Regions from separate parts of the Homo sapiens genome. Here regions 1 and 2 are each linked to region 3. The links are contacts of gene promoters, found by promoter capture Hi-C in blood cells and fetal thymus (Javierre and others, 2016). All regions are on one chromosome and are shown on one strand. The core of a region is centred on a gene start or on the middle of the fragment in contact, and the rest is flanking DNA. Distances in the headings are between cores, read along the strand shown. Region 1 overlaps CPSF6 (cleavage and polyadenylation specific factor 6). Region 2 has its middle 7.8 kb from the start of MIR1279. Region 3 holds the start of FRS2 (fibroblast growth factor receptor substrate 2).

The links. The method cuts DNA at HindIII sites, captures the fragments that hold promoters and counts their contacts. A CHiCAGO score of 5 or more calls a contact.
Region 1: a fragment that was not itself captured here is called in contact with the fragment with the promoter of FRS2 in region 3 in 3 of 17 cell types (non-activated CD4 T cells, activated CD4 T cells and naive CD4 T cells); the score reaches 5.9 in non-activated CD4 T cells.
Region 2: a fragment that was not itself captured here is called in contact with the fragment with the promoter of FRS2 in region 3 in 2 of 17 cell types (neutrophils and M2 macrophages); the score reaches 5.8 in neutrophils.

What each region holds. Positions count from the first base shown.
Region 1 is chr12:69,261,398-69,264,276 of GRCh38, forward strand. CPSF6 (cleavage and polyadenylation specific factor 6) reads left to right here. Exons shown (of 10, transcript NM_007007.3): 9 at 976-1,165. The coding sequence ends at 1,162. Among named protein-coding and RNA genes, the nearest start is that of MIR1279, 10 kb to the right of the region's middle. The HindIII fragment of the contact is 2,252 bases long and covers 343-2,594 here.
Region 2 is chr12:69,279,537-69,282,538 of GRCh38, forward strand. No RefSeq gene overlaps it. Among named protein-coding and RNA genes, the nearest start is that of MIR1279, 7.8 kb to the left of the region's middle. The HindIII fragment of the contact is 7,876 bases long and covers 1-3,002 here.
Region 3 is chr12:69,468,620-69,471,683 of GRCh38, forward strand. It overlaps FRS2 (fibroblast growth factor receptor substrate 2), which reads left to right and starts at 1,769. Exons shown (of 9, transcript NM_001278356.2): 1 at 1,769-1,911. RefSeq lists enhancers at 1,440-1,941, 2,113-2,162. The HindIII fragment of the contact is 4,260 bases long and covers 1-2,543 here.

The sequences.
Region 1 (2,879 bases), core at 219-2,718, 210 kb before region 3:
TACAAAAAAATTTTAAAAATATCTGGGCCTGGTGGTGCATGCCTATAGTCCCAGCTACTTGGGAGGCTGTGGTGGGAGGGTTGCTTGAGCCTCAGAGGTCGAGGATGAAATGAACTGTGATCATGTCCCTGCACTCCAGCCTGGGTGACAGAGAGAGAGAGAGAGACCCTATCTTGAAAAAACAAAGTAATAACTTAGGCCTTGATCAAGGATTTTAGCACCTAATGTTTGCTAAGCTTAGCTGTCTGGTGCAGAAATACAAGACATAAATATTATTTCGTAGACAGTTATTATTTCCTTACTGTGAATTTAGCAGAATTTATAGAAGTCTTTTGGGTAGTAAGCTTTGGTTAAATTATTTGTTTTTAAAAAATCGCAGTTCATGAAACATTTCTACTTATTAAATACAATGTGAATACTATATCTATTCTTGCTACTGGTCATAATTGTTAGCCCTCTCCCATGCCTCTTCTCCTCCCCTGAATATAACATGCGTATTAGAAGGTTTCTTTGTGTTGGATGCTGCTCATGAACCATATGTTAAGAGGTTGTCATATTCATGTATTTAAGCCCCATTGTGTGTTGTGATTTCATGACTTTTATATCTAAAAAAACCATATTGTAGATGTTCTTTAGCTTGAAACACGAGTGCTTTGAAATTTTCCCTTTACCTTTCTATTTGTGCATTCAGTAAATACTACACATCTGTTTTAGGCTACTAGTTTAATAGATGATGTGATGCATTTCTGTGATGTGTCTGGTTGCTGATTTTTTTGTTAATGTTTTTAATAGTGAAATTTCTGGTTCATGCTTACCTGGTGAGTTGGTAAGTCGTTATTGGCAGCTCAGGATAGTAAGTTTAAACCAGATTTACAAAGAATTTTTGCTGCCTAAGTTTTTTTAGACATCAAAAAATTGAATATTTTTAGGCTATCTAATTATGGAGAGCATTAATCCAGTAATTTCTTTTAGAAGACGTGAACGATCAAGAGAGAGGGACCATAGTAGATCACGAGAAAAGAGTCGACGTCATAAATCCCGTAGTAGAGACCGTCATGACGATTATTACAGAGAGAGAAGCAGAGAACGAGAGAGGCACCGGGATCGTGACCGAGACCGTGACCGAGAGCGTGACCGAGAGCGCGAATATCGTCATCGTTAGAAGGTGGGTATTCCTTGTTCCCTGTTAAATGTGTGTGTATTCTTAACAGTAACTATAACTCCAAGGCTACTGTTTATACAGTATATACCTACATTTTAAATGGTCCAACTACTTGTGAATTTAATCTTCTGGAAACATCTGAAACAAATTATAGGTAAGTAATGACAGGTAAAAATTTTGACCCTTTATCTTATGAATATTTTATTGCTGAGTTATCACTTTCAGGTTTCAAATAGTTAATGGTCTTAACAAAGCAAGGAAATAATCAAGAGGACTCATTGTGTACTTCTAAAATCTAAAAATTGGGGTTCTTGTATCACATACATAGGTTGCATGCAATTTAAAATACAAAACACAGGGAGTTATTTCACATATATGTTATGTGTTTGGATTTTTAAAAATAAATGGAAAGTTACTATTTTTGAACTAGTTTTATTTGTCCCTAAAAATTTATGAGAAAATCTAACACAATAATAGTTTATAATACAGGAGGGTGTTTTCTCAACATTCAAAGAGAATTTTCCTTTAAAAAAAAAATTTTTTTTTTTAGAAGAGACACTATCCTGACATCTGCTTTTTGTTTTTAAAAGAAACAGTATCCTTTAATTTGCAAAGAAGATGTAAAAGTTAATCAATTAAAATGGGTTTAGGGTGCACTGATTTATATCTAAAAATTTTAAATTGTGTCAAGCCATATACCCAAGTTTAGAATACCTTGAAATAATTTTCTTTGATGTTTCATTCATAAATCATAATCATTGTCTTTTTTTCTGTATTTTAAAACTTTCTTGTGTACATTTTTCATGAAGTGGGAAGAGTTGTCTGTTTATGCTTCATTTTCACATGTAATTTTATTTTTTATATTTGTTAATAGCATTTATTCATGTGAAGAGCTGGGGGAGGGCACTATAAGGCTTATGCATGTGACACAAAGGTTATTCTGTAAATTAAAATATTTTTTCTTTATATGTTGGTTGGCATATTCAAATTAAATTAAGGCTAAACAAACCCCTCATAGGTAAATACTCTTTATGTGATTATTTTCAGTAATCATGGGAAACTTACTGAAAATTCAGTCATGGTAATTGTTAGTATTTAAATTGTTATGGGCAAAATTAAAGGTTTTATCAAGTGTATGTAATTCTGTGACAGAATACCAATTTCTTTAACCATAACAGATACGCAAATGAAGTCCTTAAATGCCTAGAAAATAAGCATGCTATTTTTATGGAACACAGATATAAGCTCCTACACTATTTACAATTTTAAGGGCTTTTTGAGTTAAAAGGCTGGTTTTGATACTTTGCATTTTGAATATGCAGATTGAATATCAAAACTTTAATTTGTAGTTTTCCATGTATTACAAAATTTAATATAAATCTCAAAACATTCTTTTAATATGAGGCAAAAAAACCTTTTACTTTTAAAACTAAGCTTATTGAAATTGATATTGTTTTTGAATGTAAAAATTGAATGTTGTATTATGTAAATCTAAACACTAAATTTTAAAGATGTAGCACTTTTTTCCCCTGAGTTAAATACATCTGATCCCATCTTAATGAAAAAATTCTCAATATCCATCAGTTGCTTAAACTGGATTGTGACTGGGTTATTAGTTGAAATGCTTACCTATGTCAGTCATTTCCATTATAGAAGGGTACAGGTTCTGTAAGTTACCTATTTTTTTGGACTTTATAAGTTATCAGCAAGCTTCTTG
Region 2 (3,002 bases), core at 123-2,622, 190 kb before region 3:
TTGTAGTTCTGCCTCACTGTCTTGTTAGCAACTATTTTAAGAGCTGCGTCAGCATGTTTAAAATTGTAAAGCATATAGAAGTTGACATTCTAACAATTTTTAAGCATACAATTCAGTGGCATTAAATACATTCACAGTGTTTTGCAACCATCACCACTATCCATTTCCAGAACTTTTCCATCATCCCAAACAAACTCCCCATTCCCACCCTAGCCCCAGTCCCCGATCATCTCTCTTGTACTTCTGTCTCTGAATTTGCCTATTCTGGCTACATCATATAAACAGAATCATACAATATTTGTGTTTTGGCTCTGGTTTATTTCACTTAGTATGTTTTTTGTTTTTTTGAGACGGAGTCTCGCTGTGTCGCCCAGGCTGGAGTGCAGTGGTGCAATCTCGGCTCACTGCAAGCTCCGCCTCCCGGATTCATGCCATTCTCCTGCCTCAGCCTCCCGAGTAGCTGGGACTACAGGTGCCCGCCACCACACCAGGCTAATTTTTTATATTTTTAGTAGAGATGGGGTTTCACCGTGTTAGCCAGGATGGTCTCAATGTCCTGACCTCATGATCCGCCCGCCTCGGCCTCCCAAAGTGCTGGGATTACAGGTGTGAGCCACTGCGCCTGGCTATTTCACTTGGTATGTTTTTAAGATTCATCCATGTTGTAGCATGTGTCAATATGTGGCTGAATATCATCCCATTTTATGTACATATATGCCACATGTTTATCCATCTGTCAGTGGACAGCTTGTTTCTACCTTTTGAATATTGTGAATAATGCTACTATGAACATAGGTGTACAACTATCTGTAAGTCCCTGTTTTCAGTTCTGGGTATATAGGAGTGAAATTGCTGGGTAATGGTAATTCTATGTTTAACTTTTTGGGGAATCATGAAACTTTCCCACAGCTACTATACCATTTTACGTTCTCACCAGCAGTGCATGAAGATTGTAGTTTCTGTACATCCTCAACAATACTTATGCTTTTCTTTTTATCTGATAGTAGTCATCCTAATGGGGACAAGTGGTTATTTCATTGTTAATGGCAATTTTTAAAGCAGCTCATTTTTATGGAGACTTTACAAAGTACTTAACTTGCCGGGCATAGTGGCTCATGTCTGTAATCCCAGCACTTTGGGAGGCCAAGGCGGGTGGGTCGCTTGAGCTCAGGAGTTCTAGCCTGGGTAGTATGGTGAAACCCCATCTCTACAAAAATACAAAAATTAGCTGGATGTGGTGGCACAGGCTTGTGGTCCCAGCTACTCAGGAGAATGATGCGGGAGTCTCGCCTGAGCGTGGTAGGTCGAGGCTGCAGCAAGTGAAGATTGTCCCACTGCACCCCAGGTTGTGCGACAGACACTCAGTGAGACCCTGTCTCAAAAAGAAAAACCAAAGTAAACTTAGTTTTCATTGAACCAATTCTCTTTTGCACTCAAATGTTTCATTGGTTTACATAATACTGAGATGAAATCACAAGCAAAATTACCATTGACATAGTTTAGAAATAAACAGCTGACTCTAAACATTACTAGTAGCATGAGTTCTTGGATATGATGTATTTTGTGTGACTAAGTCAGTTTTATAGAGAGAATGTATAGTTAGGTTATGTGGGGCCAACTGAGGGCTTTTAGAATATTGACATTTTCTTAAATGCTCTAAGTTTGCTCCTGAAAGTATGGTCTACAGGGTATCAACATTGGCATCACCTGGTCTGGGAACTGGTCACAAGTGCAGAATGTACCATGCGAAATCAAAATGTACATTTGAGCAAGATCCCCAGTGATTTGTATGCACATTAAAGATTGACAAATTGTGCCTTTAAACTACTTTTAATGGCTACCTGGTGTTTCAACTTGTAACATAATTTTAACCAGTTCTTGCCACTGGGTGTTCAGGTTATTTCACTAGGTTTTTGAGTATTATAAAGGATGCTGCAATGAATTTCCTTATAGGTAAATCTTAGTGCAAATATCTGTTTTCCAGTAATGAATTTCTTGGAGTGCTTGATTCAGAGTATGAATATTTGAGTTTTTGACACATTAAATTGTCCCGATTTACTTTTACCCAAGCTGTATGTGAAAATGTGTATTTCTCCACATTCTTTTCAGTAATTAGTGCTTTTAAAAATCTATCTTAGTGGTGGAAATGGGTATCTTATTTTTAACTATTTCGTGATTGTTAGAGTGGCTTAAATATATTTAAATGTTAGTTGTGTGCTTCCATCTAGAGATAGGCGTACATAAGAAATGAATCGGTAAATCATGATTTGGTATTTCCATTTTAATAATTGAGGAAACAGTTCAGTAATACAACCAGTAAAGGGCAGACCCAGGAACTGAAGATCTGATTTAGGAACCAAGAAAGATCTGAAAGATCCTTTTCTAATCTATCAAACCAGAATTAACCTAATATATTCTATTATGGTGGAGTTAGCTAATCAAATCAAACCCTTTTTATTTCCATTCTTATACTGAAAATGTTTCTAAGTTTACTTAGTGCACACAATGAGAGTCATTTAAAAGGAAGTTATTTAGTATTTAGATTGTTACCTTAGAGAATCCTTAGATAATACTTTTATTTTTATGTAGGGTCTCACTCTGTCACCCAGGCTGGCGTGCAGTGGCATGATCATGGTTCATCATAGCCTCAACCTCCTGGGCTCAAGCCTCCCGCATAGCGGGGACTACAGATGTGCACCACCACACCCAGCTGATTTTTGTATTTTTTGTAGAGGCGGATTTTGCCATGTTGCCCAGGCTGGTCTCAGATCCTGGGCTCAAGTGATCCACCCTCCTCGGCCTCCCAAAAGTGCTGGGATTGCAGGCGTGAGCCACTGCACCTGGCCTGAGAATACATTTACTTTTTTTTTTTTTTTTTTAAGGAAATTTATAGTATCCTAACATTCTGAATAGAATTCTCATGGTAGGTGTAAGAAAGTGGTCTTAATTTTACTTAGCTATGTAATGCTGCTTTTTGTTTTTGTTTTTAGCCCTAGGTGAAA
Region 3 (3,064 bases), core at 519-3,018:
ATCCCTTTAGGCCTTGAGTAAAAAGAGATGTCGGTGAGTCCTGCCAACCCACGCTGTTTTTTACTTCTTCACACTCTGAGGCACAAAAGGCTGCTTGAATTTGAGTATTACGGAAGTATTTGCCAACACTTCTGCGATCACAAAAATAAAGTAAGAAAGCCCTGTAAATAAAGCCAAGAGCAGTGGCATTGTTTGCATCTTAAATTTGTAATAATGGGTTTTCAACTTTTTTCCTTTCCCCTGCCTTTCATAGTAGAAACATTTAAAAATCTTCCCCGCCACCCCCCCCCCCCCCAGTTTCAAGAGATGTTAGTACATTTGTTTTGCAGATAGTATGCATTGCTAAGAGGCTTTTTTTTCTTTCCCTGCATCCCAGATACAGAATCTGCCTCAGATATCTGGTGCCTTTCTGATTTTGTGGCTGAGGAATCCCACGCCCTCCTCCTTTCCATCCCTTTTCCCTGTCTGGTATGTAACTCTGTGGGTCCTCATATTATCACTGCATGGAGCTTCACAAGCACCTGTATTTTTCCAGTTGTAAAAACCCCTACTCTTTCTTTTTTTTTTTTTTTTTTTTTTTGAGACGGAGTCTCGCTCTGTCGCCCAGGCCGGACTGCGGACTGCAGTGGCGCAATCTCGGCTCACTGCAAGCTCCGCTTCCCGGGTTCACGCCATTCTCCTGCCTCAGCCTCCCGAGTAGCTGGGACTACAGGCGCCCGCCACCGCGCCCGGCTAATTTTTTGTATTTTTAGTAGAGACGGGGTTTCACCTTGTTAGCCAGGATGGTCTCGATCTCCTGACCTCATGATCCACCCGCCTCGGCCTCCCAAAGTGCTGGGATTACAGGCGTGAGCCACCGCGCCCGGCCAACCCCTACTCTTTCTTATTTCCTTAACTAATCTTTTCTATTGCCTATTGCTGATGAGGTATAAGAATCGTTAACTTTTATCCAATGCCAGACATTCTGAAATGTTTATCATGCATTATCATTTTGGATTCCTACAATGCAGAGATGATTTTATAACTTGCCAGGGTGAAAAAATAAAAGTAAATAAAAGGAGACAAGCAAAAAGATTCCAGATCCCCACCCCAACCCCCCCAACCCCCCAACCCCAGCTCTCGCCTCTGTTGAAGTCACCAGTGATGACAGAATATAGGAATATAGTTTGAGCCCTGTTTTTAAATAATTTCAAAATCTTGGTATAGGTAGATGAGATTTATACACACGTGAATTAAAATCAACCAACATTTGTGAGATTGGGTTTGGTATCTTTGACCGTTTTTCTCCCCTGCAAGACGTAGATAATAGCACCAACCCCAAGGAGTTTGGGGATGATTAAATAAGTTAATGCACCCGAAGGGACTTAATACAGTGCCTACCACGTAGTAAGCGTTCAATAAATGTTAACTATTATCATTATTTTTTAAAGGAGGCAGATTGGAGCGTAGAGTACACTGAAGGGAGTCGGGAGGCCGGGTGTAGGCACTGGATTCTTGCACCTAATTCTCCGAGCCTCGGTTTCCTTATTTGTAAAATTAGCTGGCTGGAGTAAAACAACTCAAACAGCAGTTAAAGCAAAGGGTGCAGCAGTAGCCGGGGAATCGAGGAGGCGCGGGGCGGAAAGGGTTAGTTAGGAGCCCAGAGGCTGATCTGTGGGCGCCCGGCGAGAGAGGCCCCGCCCCGCCCTGGAGGCCCTGGCAGCTCCGGGCTGAGAGCAGTTCCGGTGCCAAAACCCTTCCCTCCCCCGCTCCCCCGGAAGTGCTTTTCCAAGATTCGGGCCGGAGAGAGGCCTTGTAGGCACAGCGGCTGAGACTCGATCTGCTCCAAGTAGGGGCTCCAGCGCGGGTCGGAGTCTGGGGGTTCGCGCCCGCCGACCCGCGCCCTGCTCCCTCTCAGCACCTGGGCGGACGGTGAGTGGCTAGGGAAACGGACTGGGACGGCCGCGGGCCCGCGTCGGAGCTGGCGTTCTCGTGCCCCCGCTGCCCGCTTCGGGATCCGGGCTGAGGGCTCGGCTGCCGGCGTCCGGGGAAGGGGATTGTCGACCGCCGCGGACTTCTCCGGGCCAGCGGGACGGGAAGAGCTGGCTGTGGGTCCATGGGGTGGGCGGGGCGGAGCCAGGGAGGGGGTTCCCAGAGCTGTTGTTGCTGTTGGGACTCGAGAGTGGGGATGGGCTGGGCCTCTGTTCGTCCGTCCGACCCCCCTCATGTGTGCTGCCCCAAACCTCGCCGCTCCCTAGTTTGGTATTCTGTGTCCGGCCTGGGGTAGTAGCTGGACACCAGACTCAATCTTGGGCTCCAGTTCCCGACTTTTCGCCTCCTCTGGGTCTGTCCTGGGGTCAGTAATTAACCCGGGTCCCAGGGGTGTCGTCTTTTCCCTCCAGGGTGGGGCGCTGCCTGTACATGCCAGGGATCTTTTGCAGGGCTTTTCATCCAGATTTGCTTCAGGGTTGTCCGGGATCGATTTGGACTGGGCTCGGAACCGGTCCTGGATACGTAGGTCGCTGTGGCACCAGCATGCTCTGTATCATCTTTACTCACTTGAAAGCTTGCTGAAGCTGTTGTTGAAGTAAACTTAAAGAAAAAACTTGCTTAAGGAAAATCAGTAGTTTAGACACCCCCTCCCCCGCCTTTTTTTGCAGACATACTAAAAAAAAAAAGATGCTTTTCTCTAATCTACACTCTTAATTCTTTTGGCTATCTGATGTCACAGTTGTATGATGAGTTCATTCAGAGGCTGTACGAATTGATTTTAAAGAGTTGGACAGTTATATCCTTTCTCCCAAAGTTTGTTTACCTTCATATTTGGAACTGTCATTTTTCTTAAGGAAAAATTGTTCTTGGATTTTCTTGAGAGATTCCTTACACTGTTAAAATTGTTGCTGCAATGCAGAGTTTCACACAGGTGGGCAGAGATGTTTTGTTTAAACTTATTCCATGAAGTGTTTACTTCGGATAAACTGAGGATTTCCTAGGGGAGAAAGTGATGTAGGTAGGTTTAGTGAACAGATTTTAGGTAGTAAACTTTACTGCTGAAAGGTTTGTAGGAAATATGGGTTTTCCACAA